7 separate regions of the Homo sapiens genome follow, and regions 1, 2, 3, 5, 6 and 7 are each linked to region 4. The links are contacts of gene promoters, found by promoter capture Hi-C in blood cells and fetal thymus (Javierre and others, 2016). All regions are on one chromosome and are shown on one strand. Each heading gives the region's core, a stretch centred on a gene start or on the middle of the fragment in contact. The rest is flanking DNA. Distances are from core to core; before and after follow the strand shown.

Region 1 (2,700 bases), core at 101-2,600, 1.9 Mb after region 4:
TGACCTCAAGCGATCCACCTGCCTTGGCCTCCCAAAGTGCTGGAATTACAGGCGTGAGCTACTGCACCCAGCTGAGTTTATTTTTGTATATGGTTTGGGTAGGGGGGTCCAATGGCTATTTAGTTGTCCAGTCTGTTTTTTTGAAAAGACAATTCCGTATTGAATCATCTTAGCACTCTTGTTGAAAATAACTTGGATATAAATGTGTGGGCTTATTTCTGGTTTATATGTCTGTTCTTAGGCCATACTACAGTTTTGATCACTATGGCCAAGGTGCGAGGATTGCTTGATTCCAGGAGTTTGAGACCAACCTGGGCAACGTAGACCCCATCTCTACGAAAAATATTTTTAAAATTAGCTTGGTGTGGTGGGGCATGCCTATATTCCCAGCCACTTGGGAGGATGAGGTGGTAGGGTCGTTTGCACCCAGGTGGTGGAGGCTGCATTGAGTCATGGTAGTGCCACTGTACTCCAGCCTGGGTGATAGAGTGAGACTTTGTCTCGAAAAATAATCAAAATGGGCAAAGGACTTGAATATTTTTCCTAAGAAGATCTACAAATGGCCAGCTCACTGTTACTTTACAGTAAGTTTTGAAATAGGGAAGTGTGAGTTCTGTAACTTTATTCTTTTTCTGAATTGTTTTTGGATGTTTAGGGCCCCTCGCACTTCCAAAGGAAATTGAGAATAGCCTTTTTTATTTCTGTACAAAAGAGAGTGTTGGATTTTTTTTCTTTTTTGAAATAGTGAAACTTAGTGAAAGGTTCTCTTATCCCCTTTGCAGGGCATGTGATGGGGGTGTGCCTTGCTTCTTTGGCACCCCACTGCTCAAATCTCTAGGGAGAGCATGCAGACAGGGCAGGCTGTGGGACTCCGACCCCACGGCAGCACCTAGGGGTGAATGTTTACAGCTCCTGAAGCCCCAGTGGGCATGTGTTACAGGGTGCCCTTTTAGTCTAGCCATCCATAGGCGGCTTGTGTTAGCTCAGTTAGATGCCCTGCCTTATCGCAAGGACAGAGGGCTTTTTTGCCTTGGTGTATGGGAAGAATCAGATCACACGTGGGCTTGGAGAACGAGTGCAAGGTTTTATTGAGTGGAAGTTTCCAGCAGATGGATGGGAAGCCAGGAGGGAGATGGAGTGGGAGGGTGTTTTCCCCTGGAGTCCTGCAGCTCAGTGACCTGGGCTCTCCTCTGACCGCACCAGCCAAACCCAGCCAAACTTCATGCCCTTCTTTGGTCGATGGCCTGCCAGCCTGCTTTCTGTCAGTGTGGTATTCCACTGGCATGCTTCCCTGGACATCCAGCTATTTGTGTGTTCTTCCGCCGATATGTCCCTCTCGATGACGTCCAGCCACTTGTGTCTCTGCCTACTAGAGTCTCTGAGGGTTTTATAGGCACACGATGGGGGTGTGACTGGCAGAGTGGTCTTGGGAAATGCATCATTTGGTCAGGAAAACAGAAATGCCTGTCCTCACCTAGATCCGTGGGCACAGAACCGGGGATGGAGCCCTCGCGAGGGACCATGCCCTTCCCTTCCCAGCGCTTGCCTGCACACTTCTGTATCAGTAGGGTCTTACTCTTTCTCAGGGGATTGGAGCCCTAGCCAGGGACCATGCCCTTTTCTTCCCAGCACTTCCTTGCCTCCCTCCATATCAATAGAGTCTCATTTTGTTGCTCAGGCTGGAGTGCAGTGGTGTGATCTTGGCTCACTGCAACCTCCACTTCCCGGGCTCAAGCAATCCTTCCGCCTCAGTGTCCCAAGTAGCTGGGACCACAGGTACGAGCCACCATGCCTGGCTGATTTTTTTATTTTTAGTAGGGACGGGGTTCACCATGTTGCCCAGGCTGGTCCTGAGCCACTGAGCTCAAGTGATCTGCTCACCTTGTCCTCCCACAGTGCTGGGATTATAGGCGTGAACCACTGTAGCCTGGCCGGGTGTTGGAATTTTAATAGAGATTACGTTGAATCTGTAGATCATGTTTGGGTAGTGTTGTTGTCTTAACAGTGTTGAGTTTCCCAGTCCTCAAACACAGGGATATCTGTCTTTTGTTTTTCTTTTTTTTTTTTTTTTTTTGAGACAGAGTCTCACCCCGTCGTCCAGGCTGGAGTGCAATGGCGTGATCTCGGCTCACTGCAACCTCTGCCTCCTGGGTTCAAGCGATTCTCCTACCTCAGCCTTCCAAGTAGCTGGGATTACAGGTGCCTGCCTCCATGCCCAGCTAATACTTTATTTTAGCAGAGATGGGGTTTCACCATGTTGGCCAGCCTGGTCTCAAACTCTTGACCTCATGTGATCCACCTGCCTGGGCCTCCCAAAGTGCTGGGATTACAGGCTTGAGCCACTGTGCTGGGCCAGGGATGTCTTTCTGTTTAGGTCTTTTAACATTTCTTTCAGCACTGTCTTAATAGTTTTTGGTGTGCAAGTCTTAACATTTTCTTGGTTATATTTATTTATTATAGGTATTTTATGCTTTTGGATTTTACTGCGAATTGAGTTGTTTTCCTAATTTCTTTTTTGGATTGTTAATAGTGTATACACAAACAGCTGTTTTTGTGTGTTGATCTTCTATCTTGGCAGCGTTCCTGAATTTAATTAGCTCTAATACATATTTTTTCTGGACTCTTTAGAATTTATGTAAGATCATGTAATCTGTGAATAGGAATAATTTTACTTTTTCCTTCCCAATTTGGATGCCATTT
Region 2 (2,700 bases), core at 163-2,662, 1.6 Mb after region 4:
CGGATATGTTTAATTTTTAAAAATTTCTCAGTGTGGTTTGTCTTAATTTTTTTAAAGCAAGTTTTGTTATTTTTCATTTTAGCCACGAGTTGTCAAGTCCTGTGGATTCCCCTTCTTCCCTCAGAGCTGCACAGCAGCAAACCGTACAGCAGCAGCCTTTGGCTGGATCACGAAGGAATCAAGAGAGCAATTTTAACCTTACTCATTATGGAACTCAGCAAATCCCTCCTGCTTACAAAGATTTAGCTGAGCCATGGATTCAGGTAAGTAGTTCTTTGTTTTTCATTTCTCAAAGAAATATTTATAGATCAATTAATGTATTTGTCTCCTTCCCTCAGTTGTTCATAATTTAAAAAAACACTTTTACTTGCCTCCATCATGACCTTCATTCCACTGGAAATTTTAATGTTACTTTTGGTATTAATACTATACTGCTTATTGTACAGCTTCAACTTCAAAACTTCTTGTGGTTTCACTTCACATATCTAGAAACATCTCTTCCTGAACTAACGGACATACGGGGTTATTCAAGGATAGAAGGATAGAAACCAGAACCCTTCAATGCTAACTTTTCCCAATGTTTAATCCCCGTGCCTGCCAAGAATTTTTATCATGTTTCTTATTTGCTGCCATTTAAAATTAATTTCTCTTTTCATATCCTAATGGCATACAATGGGTGCTTAATAATTGCAGAGGAGATGAATAAGAAAAAAATATGTGATGGTTACCTTGAGTTCATCATTTTTATTTGTAAGAACAGTTTCCCATCCCTTTACCATCTCTTCTGATTGAATGTTTTTTCATCCTCAGTAAGTAGGGCTTTTTTGTCAGTTGGTTTGTAATGATTTTCTTGGTTGTTGAATGCTCAGTCTATTATTTTTTAAATGTAGGATCTAAAACCAGACGGGTCTCCAGTAGACAATAATAAAGTAAAATAATTATTTTCAATAATCTGTTAAATTCTGTTGAATTAAATTTGTGAACAGGTGCATTAACACATTGAGCTTATATATCATTAGGATTTGTTACATTTTTCTTTTGTGACCATTACAGTCCTGCAGCTTTGGAATTCTCTTAGCATATTAGCAACCCATTTATGAATCTAATAAAATCTGCAAAAATATTAAACACATTCTTGTACCTAGTTCATTAATGAAATTTAATGAACTATTAATGAACATAGGCCCTCACCTGCCCTTTCATGACCCATCAAAGAACTCTCAAGTTGATTCTGAGCTGTTAGAGTTCATTCTTTCAAGCATATGGTCTAGTTTGTTTTGCCTAAGCTTTAGGTCAGACTAGGCTCTACATTCCTAGCTTTTTATTAAGCATGTTAGGTAAGACAGTTAAAACATAGGTAGTGGTACACTACTTAACAGTACCAGAAGCTCACTATATTCTAGTTGGTTCATTCTCCCATAATATCCCTTTATAACAAAACATATGTAAATAAGTATGTTATGATCTGTTTTTCAAAAGTTGTGTTTATTCATCTTTAATATTTAGGCATTTTTCACATAATGAATTATCTTAGGTATTAAGCTTACTTTTAGCTAATTGGCCCATAATGTCAAGACCATTCACCCTTTCCTCACTGTAGGGACTCTGGCTTTTGGGGCATGGTATTGACGACGATAACAGCATATACTATAATTCTACGTCTACATTTATCCTTTGCTTACTCGAACACAAGCATTTTTTCTTCAGTTGTTTGATTTGTCCACTCCATTCGTTTTACAGTCCTACCTGTTTTGTCTAGTTTTTTAAACCTTTTTATACAGACAAAAACCAATTAAATGTGTTTTGCTTATTGCTCTTGTCTGTAAGAGAAATACTCTATATCTCTTGAAACCTTCTCCTGGTGCTTTTTTTGATTTGTTTTTTGTTTGTTTGTTTGTTTTCTTAATCTTGCTCCAGTTTTTCTCTTTAAACTACCTTAATATGAATACAGAGTTGAGGTTTTCACAGTTTTTTGGCGTTTTGGTAAGCATGTGGGACAGTAGAGGCATAGAATGTATGTATAGCCATCTAGTGACTTAATGGAGCTTATTATTAATTTTACCTGAGCTAATAAATATTAATGACTTTGGATAATTATCAGTTAAACTTGAGTATAAAATTCTTCCTTATGATGCTTAAGTGGCTGGATATATTTGAAGTTGTGAAGGATGGTAAAGATTTCAGAAATGTCCAGTTTTTACGTAGTAATCAAAAATGATGCTAAACTCAAAATGCTCTGGGTCCATAAGCTTTTCTTTACATTGAATTCATCGTGTGTGTTTGATACAGGTGTTTGGAATGGAACTCGTTGGCTGCTTATTTTCTAGAAACTGGAATGTGAGAGAGATGGCCCTCAGGCGTCTTTCCCATGATGTCAGTGGGGCCCTGCTGTTGGCAAATGGGGAGAGCACTGGAAATTCTGGGGGCAGCAGTGGAAGCAGCCCGAGTGGGGGAGCCACCAGTGGGTCTTCCCAGACCAGTATCTCAGGAGATGTGGTGGAGGCATGCTGCAGCGTTCTGTCAATGGTCTGTGCTGACCCTGTCTACAAAGTGTACGTTGCTGCTTTAGTAAGTAGCTTTATTCCATAATCATATCATTATGGGTTTGGGGTTTTTTGATGGTTCGTAGATAGTGTTTTTAAGATACAATAAAGCTACTTTACCTAATTTTGGAAAATCCAAATTTTATTTTTATTCCAT
Region 3 (2,700 bases), core at 118-2,617, 1.6 Mb after region 4:
TTCAATTGTAAAGATTTTGTATAGGCATTTGTAATTTTGATTGTTATATGCTCCCTATTATAGAACGTAGTGTAGGAAGTCTGAGTCCATGGTATTAAATAAGGATTCAGACAAAGATAAATGAAGCTAAATTTATTAGCAGTTGAAGGTAGCAGAGCTACTTTCCCCCACCTGATCACTAGAGAAAGTTTATCACTCAGTCTTACATAACACATTCCTTTATGATAAAGTGTGTAAAGTCTATATGTAGATGGAGCTCTCATTCTTTCTGATTGACAAGACTTTCATGAGTCAGTACAGATTAAAAATCCTTGTGACCCAAGGAGTTTAAATTAAAATACTATTACTTTTTACTTTTATTATCCTGTAACTATGCAATACAGGGCATTATATAGAAAGTGCTAGATGCTGGGCACTGTGGGACCACCATAAAAATGTCCTTGTCCCCCAAAAGCTTACAATCTAAGTAATTTCCATAGGTGGTAAATGGATATGTGAGCAAGGAAAACTAAAAACCATAGTAACCTCCTAAGGAGAACCAAAATGTCATAGATCCTCCAACCATCTTTAGAAAGGAAATAAATCAATACAGCTTTATTTATAAACATGTAATTTTAGAGGCTTCCAGTAAATTCATACAATAAAATAAAAAAACATATATAAAAAAATGAGGACCAACGAAACTAACTAGACTAGGAGGTTAACACCAAAGAAAAAGTAAGGACAAGGATCTGCAGGTTATGAGGTATTAACACAATACAATAGTTAAGCCATAAATGTAGAGCTTTCTGGCAGCCAAAGCAAAAAAGGTGAATGTAATCAGTTGCTTGCTTCTCATTGGAGAAGCATACAAATGTAGGAGAAATATACAAATTCTTTTGGTAACTGTCTATGAAAGTTGAGAGCACAATATGAATGACCTACTGAAAGCAGTTAATGGGGCCACAGTAATGCAACATAGATATTTAGGCTTCTGCAGATTCCATCTAACCCATGGGAAACTAATAAACCAAAGTTAATGTCTCAATCTCAAATGCCCATAGTAGTCAGGCAGGCATAATGAATGAGTGAAGCAGGCTAGTGTAGACAAACGCAGGAGTAATAGCAAATTTGGAGACGTGTCCTACTTAAAGATGGAAACCACTATGCACTACTTGGGTCAGTTTCAGCTTACTGGCCCAATGTTTCCAGTTTCAATTTTCCAAGAACAGCTGGAAAACTGAATTTTTATGTTATATCTCCTGGTCGTAAAATTTTGTCAACTAATTTTTTAAAAATTTAAACACAGTGTAGATCAAATAAATCATGTTAAGTAAATCATATTTAGCCTGGGAGCTTCCAGTTTGCGAACCTGATCTAGAACATCATCTTAGCGTTACTTCTCAGCATAGCTTGTAAGACTGTAATGCCAACAGTTAGACCCAGCATCAGGCCAAACTACTTGCATTTTTCTAAATTTATCTACTTCTCCTGCGTGATATTCAATTAAATATTTTTTGTTGGAATGAATGGCCACTCTCTGAGAAAGCTAACTGATCATAGTAAGTTTTGCCTAAACAAAAGATTCTTAACAAAAGAAAGATGATCTGCATGGTAACTTTAAAAAAGAGAGAGTTCTCACAGTTCAAAAAAGGTTTCAGTTCGTTTCTAAGAAGGGAACTTGGTCCATATACATGAACATATATCCAGCCTGTGAGTCAGGGCCATTCTTAAAATGAGATGGATGCATCAGGCTGACATAGCTGTGCAAGCATACCCAATTGGAACTTCCAAGTCAATGACTTTAAATTGCAGGAACATCCTCAAAAGAATTTGTAATAACTCTATCCCTTCTTATGTATTCCAATTGACTTCTAATTTTGTCATTATAAATTTAAATGGCTGCAAAGGATGTACTTACCTTTCGTAATGATGGTCATTTAAAAATAAAGCCATTATATAACACTTAAAATGTATGCAATGGAATCTAAATACCATAACAATTTGATATTTCATTATTCTTTTAAAAAGACATAAACATGTTTCTTGAATGGTATGAAATTTTACATGATTCCTTTTTCTCCTTGAACTCATATTCCCATTCTACTTTCTCCAAAGAAGTGTAATATGCTTTATGCTTAGAAGTCTTTTGTTGATACCCTACAATCTTTATCTGCAACAAAAATATCCTTGTAAATTGATAGTAAAGAGAAATAATTTTCCTCCAGATTGAATTATCAGTACAATTACTACTAATTTACATTTGATCTAAGCAATATACATGTATTACAAGTTTTGAGTAAAGCTTTTTGAACAAAAATTGCATTGGAAATCAATCTATTGATAAGATGAATAGGATCTTTAAAAATTAATTCATGTACCCATGGATGAATATTACTTAATGCTAGAATGGGAGTTTAACATCAATTTTATTCTTAGTCTTTATTTATACAGAAGTAAGGTTTGAGAAACCATATTCATACACAAATAGATAGAAATGGAAGGGTTTTGTTACTAAACCATCACTCAATTTGTTGATCTCCTTAGTAATATCTCCTTAGTAATACATCATGTTATGATCTTCTATCAAACATTATTTTTAATGATCTATACGCTGATGTTTTAAATGTGTTCCTTCAACTTTGTTGAAAGCTAAGAGTTAAAAGCTACCTGACTTGAAAGAGGATTTTTTACAAAGCTATTATAGCTCATCACTATAAT
Region 4 (2,700 bases), core at 46-2,545:
CTTAACTGTTACATTTCCAGACACCATCCATGATACCTGCTCATCCCGAGAAAAATTAGATTACCCTGTTAAACTGTCTTCCCTGGCTTTTCTTTGTGGCACTTATCTATTATAAGGCTATAAATATGTCTGTGTGCGTTACCTATTAGTTAATACCTATCTCTGACATTAGACTGGCAAGCTCCATGAGGTGATGTCTCTTTTTGCTCATCACATTCCTCACATCTTATCAGACACATACTAAATATTTGCATATATACACATAAATGCTCAGCAAATATTTCTTGAATACTCCAATAAGTACAAGCAAACAACCCGAGAAGAACACAACAGAATGTAATTGTTCATCTTTTGAGCTCAACCGTAATATGTGGCCTGCTCATCTGCAGCAGGAATCGGCCATCTATAAGTTGAGTTGTCAAATCAATTTGTACAGTAAGCAAAACTGCATGGCGGCAGAAACGAGGGCAGACAATTTTACAATAGATTACACGTAACCAGTGTGTAACCAGTGTGTAAGTCCTGTAATTTTTATTAAGTATTGATTTTTCCAGAACGCATGGAGACACTAGATTGTTGCTGAAAATGATATGAAAAACTGACAGAAAATGGGGCTGGCTGGCACCAGGAGGTCAGGAACTCCACTCAGTACTCGTCTTTGCGTTAGCCTAGCTAGCTGAGATGGTGCTCAGGATGAATTCCTGCTGAAACAGGAGCTAATGCAATTATTTTGTTTTTAGAAGGGGGAGAAGTGTGAGTTAAAAGAGAAATGCCAGGCTGCAACAGGGCTACTGTCAGAATTTTGGAGGCCCAAAGAGCTTAGACTTTTTTAATCTAAAACAAGGCCACCCCATGGGGAGGTAGCAGCTCGAGTGTTGGGAAATAGAAATGTTGGGCCCGAAGCTCCTCCCGGGTTCTAAGGCCCTTTCCTCAGGACAAGCAGCAAGGTCTCAGGGCAGACAGCCAGGGGCTGGGGGACCTCTCGTACCTTGCTTGACACGGGGCTCCCTGGAGCCGGCAGCGGCAGCGGCAGCGGTGGCCGGCCTGGACACTGGCTTCTTGCTTTGGGCCTCCCCGGCAATTCCAGCCTCGGCAGATTTGGCTCTGGAAGCAGACACGGCGGCCCGGACCACCGCGGCCGCTGGAGCCTTGTGTTTCTTGTTCTTGCCGCCCATGTTGCAGCTGTGGCAGAAGATCCTTCGCGGCCCAGGCCCCGACGGTACCACTGCACAGCCGAGAGCTCTTCACATTCCCCGGCTCCGGGGCTGCCACCCTGCGCTTCGATCCGGGCTTCTCGGGCCGGGGCGACCGCTGCCTCGCAATTGGTCGAATTCAGCAGGCTCCGCCTCCTTGAGTCGCCAGCTGCCTGCCACACGCCAGGCGCCACGCGCCGCCCTCGCTCTTTATCCACTGAGCAGCTTATCCACTTTAGGTCGGAAAGGAAAGGAAAGAAAAGCAGGAAAAAAAAAAAAAGTCAGGGGAACATTTTTGTCGGCTGCGCGACTCGACTACTTTTGTCTCCTGCGGGCCACTGTTGAGCCTTCACGAGACGTCACTGTCTTCGGTCGCGGGGCATCGTGGGTAGGAGGGAGATTTGCTCTCACTGCTCCCAAAAATGGCGGACGCATTCGGAGATGAGCTGTTCAGCGTGTTCGAGGGCGACTCGACCACTGCGGCGGGAACCAAAAAAGACAAGGAAAAGGACAAGGGGAAATGGAAGGGGCCTCCAGGGTCTGCAGACAAGGCAGGGTAAGGAAGAAGTTCCAGTTGTTGCTTTTATTTTTTTTCTCGGTGGGGAGGAAGAAAACACTACTCTCTTAGGAAGAGCACGAGAAAGTGAAGTGTACATTGAGTGGCGTTGGAAGTGAAGGGGTTCCAGAAAAAAGTTGGAGAGGGTGGAAGAATGTTGGTTCGTGGAAGGGGGGTCTTGGCGTTTCCTGGTGTCTGCAGGCAGCGTGATCTTCTGCTTCAATTCCCTTACGTCGATGTTACTGATTCTGTCCCCATCTTCGCGGTTGTCTCCTGCATCAGCACAACACCTGGCACATAGTCGTTAATAAACAAAACGAATGATTAGTTGAGTAAAAGGTGAAAAGGTTTAGAAAAAATGATATGAATTGATTTGGAGGGGAAAGGGCAGATAATAACATGAGAAGGGAGAGACATTTAATCTCCAAGATGTAGTAGTTTTCTCTTCCGTAAAATGGAGATAATAGTGCCTACCACTGGTGGATATGAGGATTCAATGAGATACACGTGTAAAGTGCCTAACAGTGGTTAGCTAGCTATCACTAATAAATGGTAGCTATCGTGAGTTTATTGAGAAAAAATTTAAAAATTACTGGACCCTACCCATATGTTTAGACTGGTGCATACAGCCACCAGAAAGTGTACAGATCTGTTTATAGTAGAACAAGGAAAAGCTATTACTTGTATTAAATAAAGTAAGATGATTAATTAACAATCAACAAAATATACTCTTGGCATTGTGGGGCCAGATACCCAATAGATGCTTGAAATTAAATTAGACATGATTTTGCTCTCAAGGAATTTTCGGTGTAGGGAAAGAGAACAGGTACCCATTAAAGAGTTACAGTATAGGTGAGGAGGTCGTTAACTTAAAATGAATGATATATACAATTAAGTGTTATAAAAGTTCAAGAAAGGGAGATCCTATTTCTGACTTTCAGGAAGGCTTAT
Region 5 (2,700 bases), core at 19-2,518, 1.6 Mb after region 4:
CCCTCAAGTTTACTGGTGCTGCACACGCAGTTCCGGGATCCTCACTCAGGTCACTCAGAGTGTAGGGCCGCGTGCTGATGCAGAGCATGGGCACTGATGAAACCATTGGTCTCGTTGGCAGAGAGACTGCCAAAGTCAGCCACAGAAACAGCCATTTTGGCACTGGTGATGTGATGTGTGTGATTTTCAAAGTCCACACCCAGGTTATTTACAGAAACTTCATTCATAAAGGATTCAGGGACGGCAATGCCCATTTTCAATCTTTTTGCTGGTCTCTCTGACTCTTCACTGCACATGTTCATAGGGTTTAGCTCCGAGTGATAAAATCCAGTCTCAAATAAATTAAAACAATCACTTTCCCCATTGCTGGGCAGGGTGAGTAACTCTTCTGTTACAACAGGCACATGATTAACTTGTCCACGGGGTGTGTTGCCCAGTGGAGGAAAGCTATCATCCAAACAATTCACATCTGTGGGGTCGCAGACGGTTGCTACACTGTTGGTCAAAGCTAAAAAGGAATGGAAAATTGTTTAAGTAAGTGGTCCTATGACATCAAACAGAGGACACAATTTTGCAACAAACTGTACTAAATGCAGAAAGGTCTTCATTTTACCTGTCAAGTCACTGGCAGTGAAGGAGTTGAGAATGTTTAGCTGTTGATCAGGAATAGGCTCAGGCCGGTTAGAAGTTAAGGCTGAAGCATTTACCGTCCCACCCAAAGCTTCTGTTTCATCTACTAAACGATCCATATAGTCCCTGAAAAACACACCCCAGTAATTTTATGACTATATATTACAGTTAAAAGTAAGTCTTTGAAGGCAAGGCCACAGTACTTACGTAACTCCAGGGTGATGGTTATATCTTTTTTTCCCAAATCTTGTCTGTTGAGCAAAGTAATCATAACGTTCAGATTTCTTCCACATATAGTAGAATGCTACACACTCAGCAACTGTCCTAGTTCTCACCTAATGAAAAAGTTGAATTTTTAAAAAACCAACAAACTCAACCATTTTTTTAAGCAACTTTTCTTTTCCACAACACTACAACTTCAATCCATGGGTCTTATTTTCCCATTATATAGTTCTGAACACTTTTAATAAATTATAAAGTTCTGAACACTTTGATTAGTGGAATGCCTTTACATTTAATAATGAGGCCATTTTCGAAAGCCCAAGGTTTTTTTTTTAAAAAAATCAGAATGTATTAGTTTATAAAACAAGTGTGTATCCAGAAATTATCTTACACCTTCACTGAAAATCTTAAACACTAGCATTCTTTACTTTTCTTTACTGAGCTCTGTGATTTTGACTACAGTGAGGGTTCTTAACTTTGGATTAACTAACCCCTGAGGGGTCCATAAATGGATTTCATTGAGATCTATTAATTCACAAAATTATATTTAGGTATATTTTTCTGGAGAGAAGGAATGCAGCCTCATCAGATTTGAGTTCCACTTTCCAAAAGAGATTAAGAACCCTTGGCAAATGGACCAACGGTCTACAGCATCTGGAATTTAAGATGACTTGCTAGCTAAAGGCAGGGCTTTCTCCCTCCAGTATGTTTGGTTTTTAGATCCAACAGATTTTGGAAACAACAACAATAAAATTTGAGCCTCACCACCTTGGCTCCACACCCAAACCAGGGTTCCTCTAACCACATACAGCCACAGATATGAATTCAGATGTATGAACAAAATTCTTCATCCTTATCCAATAAATGCTTTCTCCCTTGCTTAATCAGTACCCGATAAAGAAGTTTCAGTATCTCTAACCTGACTCCTGAGTAAGTTGTGATATAAGATTACTAATATGGGAATAAGCTTTTTAAACCAAGAAATACAGTATACCTTTCAATAAACATCATTAACTATAAGTCTTCGCAGAGAATGCAGGCTTCGTGGGGCTACAGACCTTTTCTGTCTTATTCACTGTTGTATCTCTAGTGCCTAAAACAATGTCTGGTAAGTGAAGTGGAAGGACATAACTGTTTACGGAATGAATGGATAGAGTAAATTTCATAAGTCATTACAAAACTGATGGTTTTTTTTACTTAAAAGGACAATCCAGACTTCTTTAAAAATGTCTTAAATTATACGCTTTATCTCATCTTTGAGAAACATTAGATTTTCAAACATACAGAAAGTGTGAAATTTTCAACATCAATACTGGAAGGTCTAGCTAATGCAGTAAGACAAGAAAAAGAAATAAAAAGTATACAGATTGGGAAGGAAGAAATAAAACTGTCTCTGTTTACAGGTGACATGACTGTCTACGTAGAAAACTCCAAAGAATCAACAAAAAATCGCCTGTAACTAATAAGCACTTACAGCAAAGTTTCAGGAGACAAGGTTAATACACAAAAGTCAACTGCTTTCCTATATAACAGCAATGACGATTGAAATTTGAAATTTAAAACACAAGACCATTTACATTAGCACCCCAAAATTAAAATACTTGGGTATAAATATAACAAAATATATGCAAAATCTGTATGAGAAAAACTACCAAACTCTGATTAAAGAAATCAAAGAAGAACTTAACGAAGAAATATTCTATGTTCATGGATAAGAAGACACTTCATTGTTAAGACGTCAGTTCTTCCTAGCTTGATCTACCGATTTAGCACAAACCCAATCAAAATCCCAGCAAGTTATTTTGTGGGTATCAACAAACTAATTTTATATGGAAAGGCAAAATACCC
Region 6 (2,700 bases), core at 73-2,572, 1.5 Mb after region 4:
TTTTTCTTCTTTGCTGCCTGGCCAGTGCTTATCTGTGGTAGGTGTGCCAGCATTCATTGAACGGAGTGGTTTGCTAGCATTCAAAGCATAAAGAAGAAAAGCTGCATTTGTCAGGAAGTCATTCTTCCTCATTCTGAGCATCCCAGTTAACATGCCTTTTTACCAGGTGGAAGGAAATAGTATAGTACTAGCTGTTCTGTAGAATTTTGAAAGAAATCCTTCTCCTAGCAAAGACTGTAAGAGGGCTTTGTATGCTAATTCGGGGTTATCCCCTCTTCTCCTTTAATCTCAGAGCATTAAAAACAGTTAAGGGCTTTTTTAAAATAGAAGGTATTCACTCAAAATATTACATATCTATAACTTCTTAAAATACAGAAGCTTTAAATTTTGTTAGTGGGGTAAGAATTATAGTAAGTTGTATTATGCCATAACCTACATATACTAACAGACCACTTTCGTAAGTATGTACTAGCCCTGTTGAGTTGACCACTTAGAAGTATACTCAAACTGCACTGCCACATTTCCCCAAAGGTAACAAGTAAACATAGGAGAAAACATACACTGCAGCCTTCATGTAACACTGACTTGGGATCTTTTTAATGAACACCCAAATGGTGAAGGAACAGAGGTTTTCATTTCACTGTGCCATGCATTCTGTACCAGTGCCCCCAGATAAGGGCAGGATGCATGGCCTTGCTGAGAACACCCCTCCCCCCACAGTAGTAGTGTAGGAAGTTCCAACCTACTTCTCTAGTGTAACGTCTCTCTAGGTTTATGCATCAGTTGTCTTGTAGACATTCCCAGCCCTAGATTTGTCAAGTAGCAAGGGGGGATTCTTAAAAGGAAAAACACGTTTAGCCAAAAACTGTTTTGTTTTGTTTTTAAAAACATCCTTCTTACTTACTGATCTGTGTTCAACAATTAGGGAAGAGGATACTCACAATGTTTCATTTTTCCCCAAAGGTTTCTAAAGGTTTTTCCTCAAGTACCAAGGACACAACAAAGGAAAGAATAAACAGTGGAATTTTTAGCGCAGAATGTCAAAAGAATACAAGGTTTTATGGGTTTTTGTTGGAAAGGAACAAGTGGGAAATGGGACCATATTAATTTTAAACTCCCTCTGTTGGGTGCTCAGAACATAGTTTACCTTAAGCCTGATGGATGTTCTGAGTTTCTCCCCGCAGGGAGATAGGTGAAAGAGTCCTAGTATTTAGAAGTACTGTTACAAAGCTGATTACTCTGATGAGTGATATAAGTGTTTTAAAGCAATATTTAGTCTAAGTAGTAAATATTCCTAAGACAGACAGTAACTTTACAATTCATTTGTTTTGTTGTCTTAAATGGCAGAACAATGTTGTTTTTCTGTCACTAACGTTTTTATATGTTTTCTAAGATGATGAATCATACAGAATCACCAAACTCATATTTCTGTTCAGGTCTGACCATTTTTACAATTTTCATTTGCCTATGTAAATATTACCCACATATTATAGTTCATAATTTGTGATATGTCAGCAGATTTCATTGAACTTGAGTCTTAGGTCACAATAGAACTAACAACATATTGGCTTCATTCTAGTCCAATTTGTTTTCTTTTATGCCTACACACCAAGGGTGTTCGCTTGAAAACAAGTCTTCCTTCACCTCCTGCTTTTTCTCCTCACCTGCTCTTTAAAAAATAATTGTACCTGACTCAAATTGATAGTCTTCTAGGATTTTCATTCGCTAACTCAAATTGCTAGTCTTCTAGAGTTTTCATTTGCTACCAAGTTAACTTGCTTACTAACTTGATTTGTCTTATCTCTTTTAGATTTATTTAAAATCCCTACCAATTTTAAGAGTCACTGCATATTCTTGATTACTTCTGCATGGCTATATCTCCATGTCCCCCTCTCCGAATTCTGATGTGTATTTGACTTGTTTGGATTATATTTCCTCCTGGCAAGTTTTGACTTCGTTGCAGTTTGACGTTTTCTTGACCTGTCAGTGCTCATGATTGTTTCCGTGGCTTAACAAAGTGTACATATTTAGTTTCATTATTGTATAAATTTGTTGATTTTTCTGTTCATCTATTAACACATTTAGAAGAAAGAACTTTTCTTTTTCCAAATTTGAACAGAACATCTCAATTCTATTAGTGATGTGCTTAGTAATGTGTATTGGATTGATTTATTGTGGTACATTAATAACTTGAATGTGGTAGTTTTTAATGGAATCTGCCAGCTACATTTCTGAGAGACATGAGTGTGCCAAAGAAACACCATAACCAAGCTTTTACACTACTGCCTTATTTTCTTTCTGGAACTAGGCAGGTGTAAAGAGATGATTTAGAAAACCTTTTTGCATTTTATCTTTTTCTTAGTGTTTATCTGGGTTTCAGCTGCAAGGAATATAGCCCCTTTCGTTTGATGATGTTTATCCATATTTAAACATGGCCACCTGAAAGTTTAGCCTTAGTGTTTTATCTTAAATATGTCAGTGACTTTGGAGACTGTTGAAGTACATCCATAATGTTTGTATGTTAGTTTAAAAGTAAAAAAGACTTGGTCGGGCGTGGTGGCTCATGCCTGTAATCCCAGTACTTCGGGAGGCCGAAGTGGGTGGATCACTTGAGGTCAGGAGTTTGAGACCAGCCTGGCCAACATGGTGAAACCCCATCTCTACTAAAAATACAAAAATTAGCTGGGCGTTGTGTTGGGC
Region 7 (2,700 bases), core at 201-2,700, 1.6 Mb after region 4:
AACTGTCTGCACAGTCCGTTACCAAAAGAACTCCATCGATGACTGAAGCCAGTCTCATTAGTTGGTATGCAACCTGACATCTCTATACCCCATGCCTCATGGCCCTAGGTTGTAACTTATTACATCTGTAGAGGTAAAACCAGCCTAAGCTGATGTGGCAAGGGATAAATCCTTCATGCCCCAAAATTCTTTTTCCCACAATGCTGAGATTCCTGTTAGAGTTTATTTTTGAGATAACTAAGTGATAGCTTCCCTTAAGGTCAATTTACTTAATAAGATTTCTCAACATCTATGTAGACATACTGAGAGGATGAGGGTTGTAACTAGGGTGAAATGGAGAGAAAGGATAGGAGGAGAAATAAAAAGATGGGGAGATATTGAAAAATCTTTGGCAGAGAGTGGCATGACGATATTTGTGCGTTAGAAAGAGCACCCTTGCAGTACCTTGAAGAAAGAATTACATGGGCCAGTACAAAAGGCAGAGAGAAAGTCAGAAGGCAATTGCAGTATCCAGAACCTAGGTGAAGGTAGCATCATGGGAATGAGGAGGAAGAGACAAATCTGAGCGATATTAAACAGCAGAATTGAAAGATTGTAGAAATGATCTTGGGGGAAGGGTATGCGGAGGATGGAGAATGACATCGAGGATGCGTCTGCTATCCAGGCTTGGTCACCTGTGTGAACGCTGGTGCCATTACTGATACAAGGAAATCACAGGGGGAGTAGGTTGGAGGACAAGATGTGCTTTGGCCATGTTAAAATATTCGAGTTGCCTGGAGGATATCCAAGTAGAAGTTTCCAGTAATACTGTATATGCACATGAGTACCTCCAGAGATACTTTGGTTGCAAATAATAAATGTGCAAGCTATTGACATATAAATGGTCACTGAAGCGATTGATATATCATTTAGGGTTGTACTCAGCTGCACGTAAAAGTGACTGGACTACATAGCCTACAAATGAGAGAAGGTAAGCAGGTCAGGGCTGGTGTATTAGGCCTAGGGTGTCATCAATGTTGCCATGCTTTATCTTCCCGCTCCACTCTTCTCAGCATGAGGCTTTCACCCTCAGGCTCCAACTCTGATCTCCAATCTACAATCAGGGAAAGAAAAAGGAGAATAAAAAGGTAGTGCCTGTGTCAGGAAGACAGAAACTTTCCTTAAAATGCTTACGAGATTTTCACTCACATTTCATTTGACTAGAACTCCCTAGCTATAAGGAAGTCTGAGAAGAATGGACATCAAGCAGGCAACTCTACAGCATCTACCACAATGAGTCACAAGGGAAACGGGGGAGAATACTCAGGAGAATATGTTCAGTGAGGAAAAACCAAGACCAGAACCCCGATGAAGACCAAGATTTAAGGCATAGACAAGAAGCAGAATAGATAAAGGAGACAAGAGCTCATCTTCAGAAACTAGAAACGCACAGGGTCAGGGAAATCAAGAGAGGAGAATGTTTTAAAGAAAGGTCAGTAATTTCAAAAGCCACAGACGTCAGGTAAGATAAGAACTTAAGTCTCACAAGGTGAATGGCAAGGACCATTCCAGTGAAGCCGACTAGAAGGAAACATGATCATAGCTGGGCAAGCATGGTCATGGAGATGATGTGCATAGCCTACTTTGTCCAGAAGTCTGTCTAGGAGCAAAAGTGAAGGGAACAACGTGGAAGAATTATTTGGGCAATTATGCAACCTCCAGAAGAGGGCAGCAGAGTAAAACTTTTAATTTGCACTGCCTGCCAGATATCTGAAAATCAAAGGTTATCTCACCCCTTCCTCAGGAATAGAGCAGAAATCTCAGTGTTCCCCCTTAGAATACTGAAAAAAACTCAAAACTATCACTAAGAGTTGCATTTTTCCATTCTAAAACCTAGATTCTATGCTTATCTATTGCATAACAGGGTATTCCTAGTCCCTCTACCCGCTCCTAACAGTCTACAACAAAAGGAGAGGCTGTAGCAAGATACTTGATGCCCTTTCCTGGTCTCTTGTTCTCAGAACCACTCTACTCTCAGCTGGCTGGGTCATCCATCCATTCATCCATCCATCCATCCATCCAACCATCCATCCATCCATCCATCCATCCATCCATCCATCCATCCATCCATCTGTCCATCCATCCATCCATATCCATCCATGCATCTATCCATCCATGCATCCTGCCAACTACTGTTCCTCTGAGCTTTTCAAACTCTATTTCCAGCTAGTACTCTGCTACTAGAACATTCAATGACTATCTACTGCTGACTACCTCAAATGTCCATGTTTTTTAATGGTCTGACCTTATTCTGCCTAAATCTTTATTTCCTACTATCCGTAATACAAAATTTCTGTTCTACTCCTTTCGTTACATTCCTGCTCTCTGAATCCATTGTGTTCCACCCCACCTCTGCACCTTCCCTCACACCAGTGGTTTTCAAACTTTTTGTTCTCAGAGCAGTCAAGAAGTGCTGCCACAGAACCTTCCAGTCGATTCCCAAGACTGCCAAAACTAGCTGGTGTACTACATACCTATATGGAGCATGCTGCACAGTATAGTCCTAATAGATTTGTATATTTATTACATTTTTTTACAGTCGATGGCAGTAAAGTGGCCAAAGGAAAAGGTGCCTTTTGCTAATTCATACAAAGACTAGCAGAGATCATTTTCTCCTCCTTTTTATGCAATATTTTAGGTCCTGCAGCACAAAATTATTTT

What was found. Contacts are between HindIII fragments. The CHiCAGO score rates a contact against its expected background, and 5 or more counts as called.
Region 1: a contact is called between a fragment that was not itself captured here and the fragment with the promoter of DHX29 in region 4, in 1 of 17 cell types (monocytes). The highest score is 5.0, in monocytes.
Region 2: a fragment that was not itself captured here is called in contact with the fragment with the promoter of DHX29 in region 4 in 4 of 17 cell types (monocytes, total B cells, total CD8 T cells and 1 more); the score reaches 7.8 in monocytes.
Region 3: a fragment that was not itself captured here is called in contact with the fragment with the promoter of DHX29 in region 4 in 3 of 17 cell types (monocytes, total B cells and non-activated CD4 T cells); the score reaches 7.0 in monocytes.
Region 5: a contact is called between a fragment that was not itself captured here and the fragment with the promoter of DHX29 in region 4, in 3 of 17 cell types (monocytes, naive CD8 T cells and total CD4 T cells). The highest score is 6.9, in monocytes.
Region 6: a fragment that was not itself captured here is called in contact with the fragment with the promoter of DHX29 in region 4 in 1 of 17 cell types (fetal thymus); the score reaches 5.2 in fetal thymus.
Region 7: a contact is called between a fragment that was not itself captured here and the fragment with the promoter of DHX29 in region 4, in 1 of 17 cell types (fetal thymus). The highest score is 5.2, in fetal thymus.

What each region holds. Positions count from the first base shown.
Region 1 is chr5:57,206,601-57,209,300 of GRCh38, forward strand. The region is part of intron 2 of GPBP1 (GC-rich promoter binding protein 1); the gene reads left to right. Among named protein-coding and RNA genes, the nearest start is that of GPBP1, 34 kb to the left of the region's middle. The HindIII fragment of the contact is 3,262 bases long and covers 1-2,700 here.
Region 2 is chr5:56,872,743-56,875,442 of GRCh38, forward strand. It overlaps MAP3K1 (mitogen-activated protein kinase kinase kinase 1), which reads left to right. Exons shown (of 20, transcript NM_005921.2): 9 at 83-263; 10 at 2,290-2,568. Among named protein-coding and RNA genes, the nearest start is that of SETD9, 36 kb to the right of the region's middle. The HindIII fragment of the contact is 256 bases long and covers 1,285-1,540 here.
Region 3 is chr5:56,954,271-56,956,970 of GRCh38, forward strand. No RefSeq gene overlaps it. Among named protein-coding and RNA genes, the nearest start is that of MIER3, 3.5 kb to the left of the region's middle. The HindIII fragment of the contact is 1,830 bases long and covers 453-2,282 here.
Region 4 is chr5:55,306,399-55,309,098 of GRCh38, forward strand. It overlaps DHX29 (DExH-box helicase 29), which reads right to left and starts at 1,296. Exons shown (of 27, transcript NM_019030.4): 1 at 989-1,296. The coding sequence starts at 1,175. MTREX (Mtr4 exosome RNA helicase) reads left to right here and starts at 1,591. Exons shown (of 27, transcript NM_015360.5): 1 at 1,591-1,749. The coding sequence starts at 1,616. LOC124900979 (a long non-coding RNA gene) reads right to left here. Exons shown (of 2, transcript XR_007058774.1): 2 at 1,751-2,039. RefSeq lists enhancers at 965-1,224, 1,365-1,844. The HindIII fragment of the contact is 7,705 bases long and covers 1-2,700 here.
Region 5 is chr5:56,923,078-56,925,777 of GRCh38, forward strand. MIER3 (MIER family member 3) reads right to left here. Exons shown (of 13, transcript NM_001297599.2): 11 at 838-965; 12 at 614-756; 13 at 1-508. The coding sequence ends at 51. It also overlaps a transcript of SETD9 not described here. Among named protein-coding and RNA genes, the nearest start is that of SETD9, 15 kb to the left of the region's middle. The HindIII fragment of the contact is 1,098 bases long and covers 720-1,817 here.
Region 6 is chr5:56,844,770-56,847,469 of GRCh38, forward strand. All of the region lies in intron 1 of MAP3K1 (mitogen-activated protein kinase kinase kinase 1), which reads left to right. Among named protein-coding and RNA genes, the nearest start is that of MAP3K1, 31 kb to the left of the region's middle. The HindIII fragment of the contact is 1,893 bases long and covers 377-2,269 here.
Region 7 is chr5:56,899,323-56,902,022 of GRCh38, forward strand. LOC105378980 (a long non-coding RNA gene) reads right to left here and starts at 744. Exons shown (of 3, transcript XR_948347.4): 1 at 675-744. RefSeq lists an enhancer at 413-582. The HindIII fragment of the contact is 7,054 bases long and covers 1-2,700 here.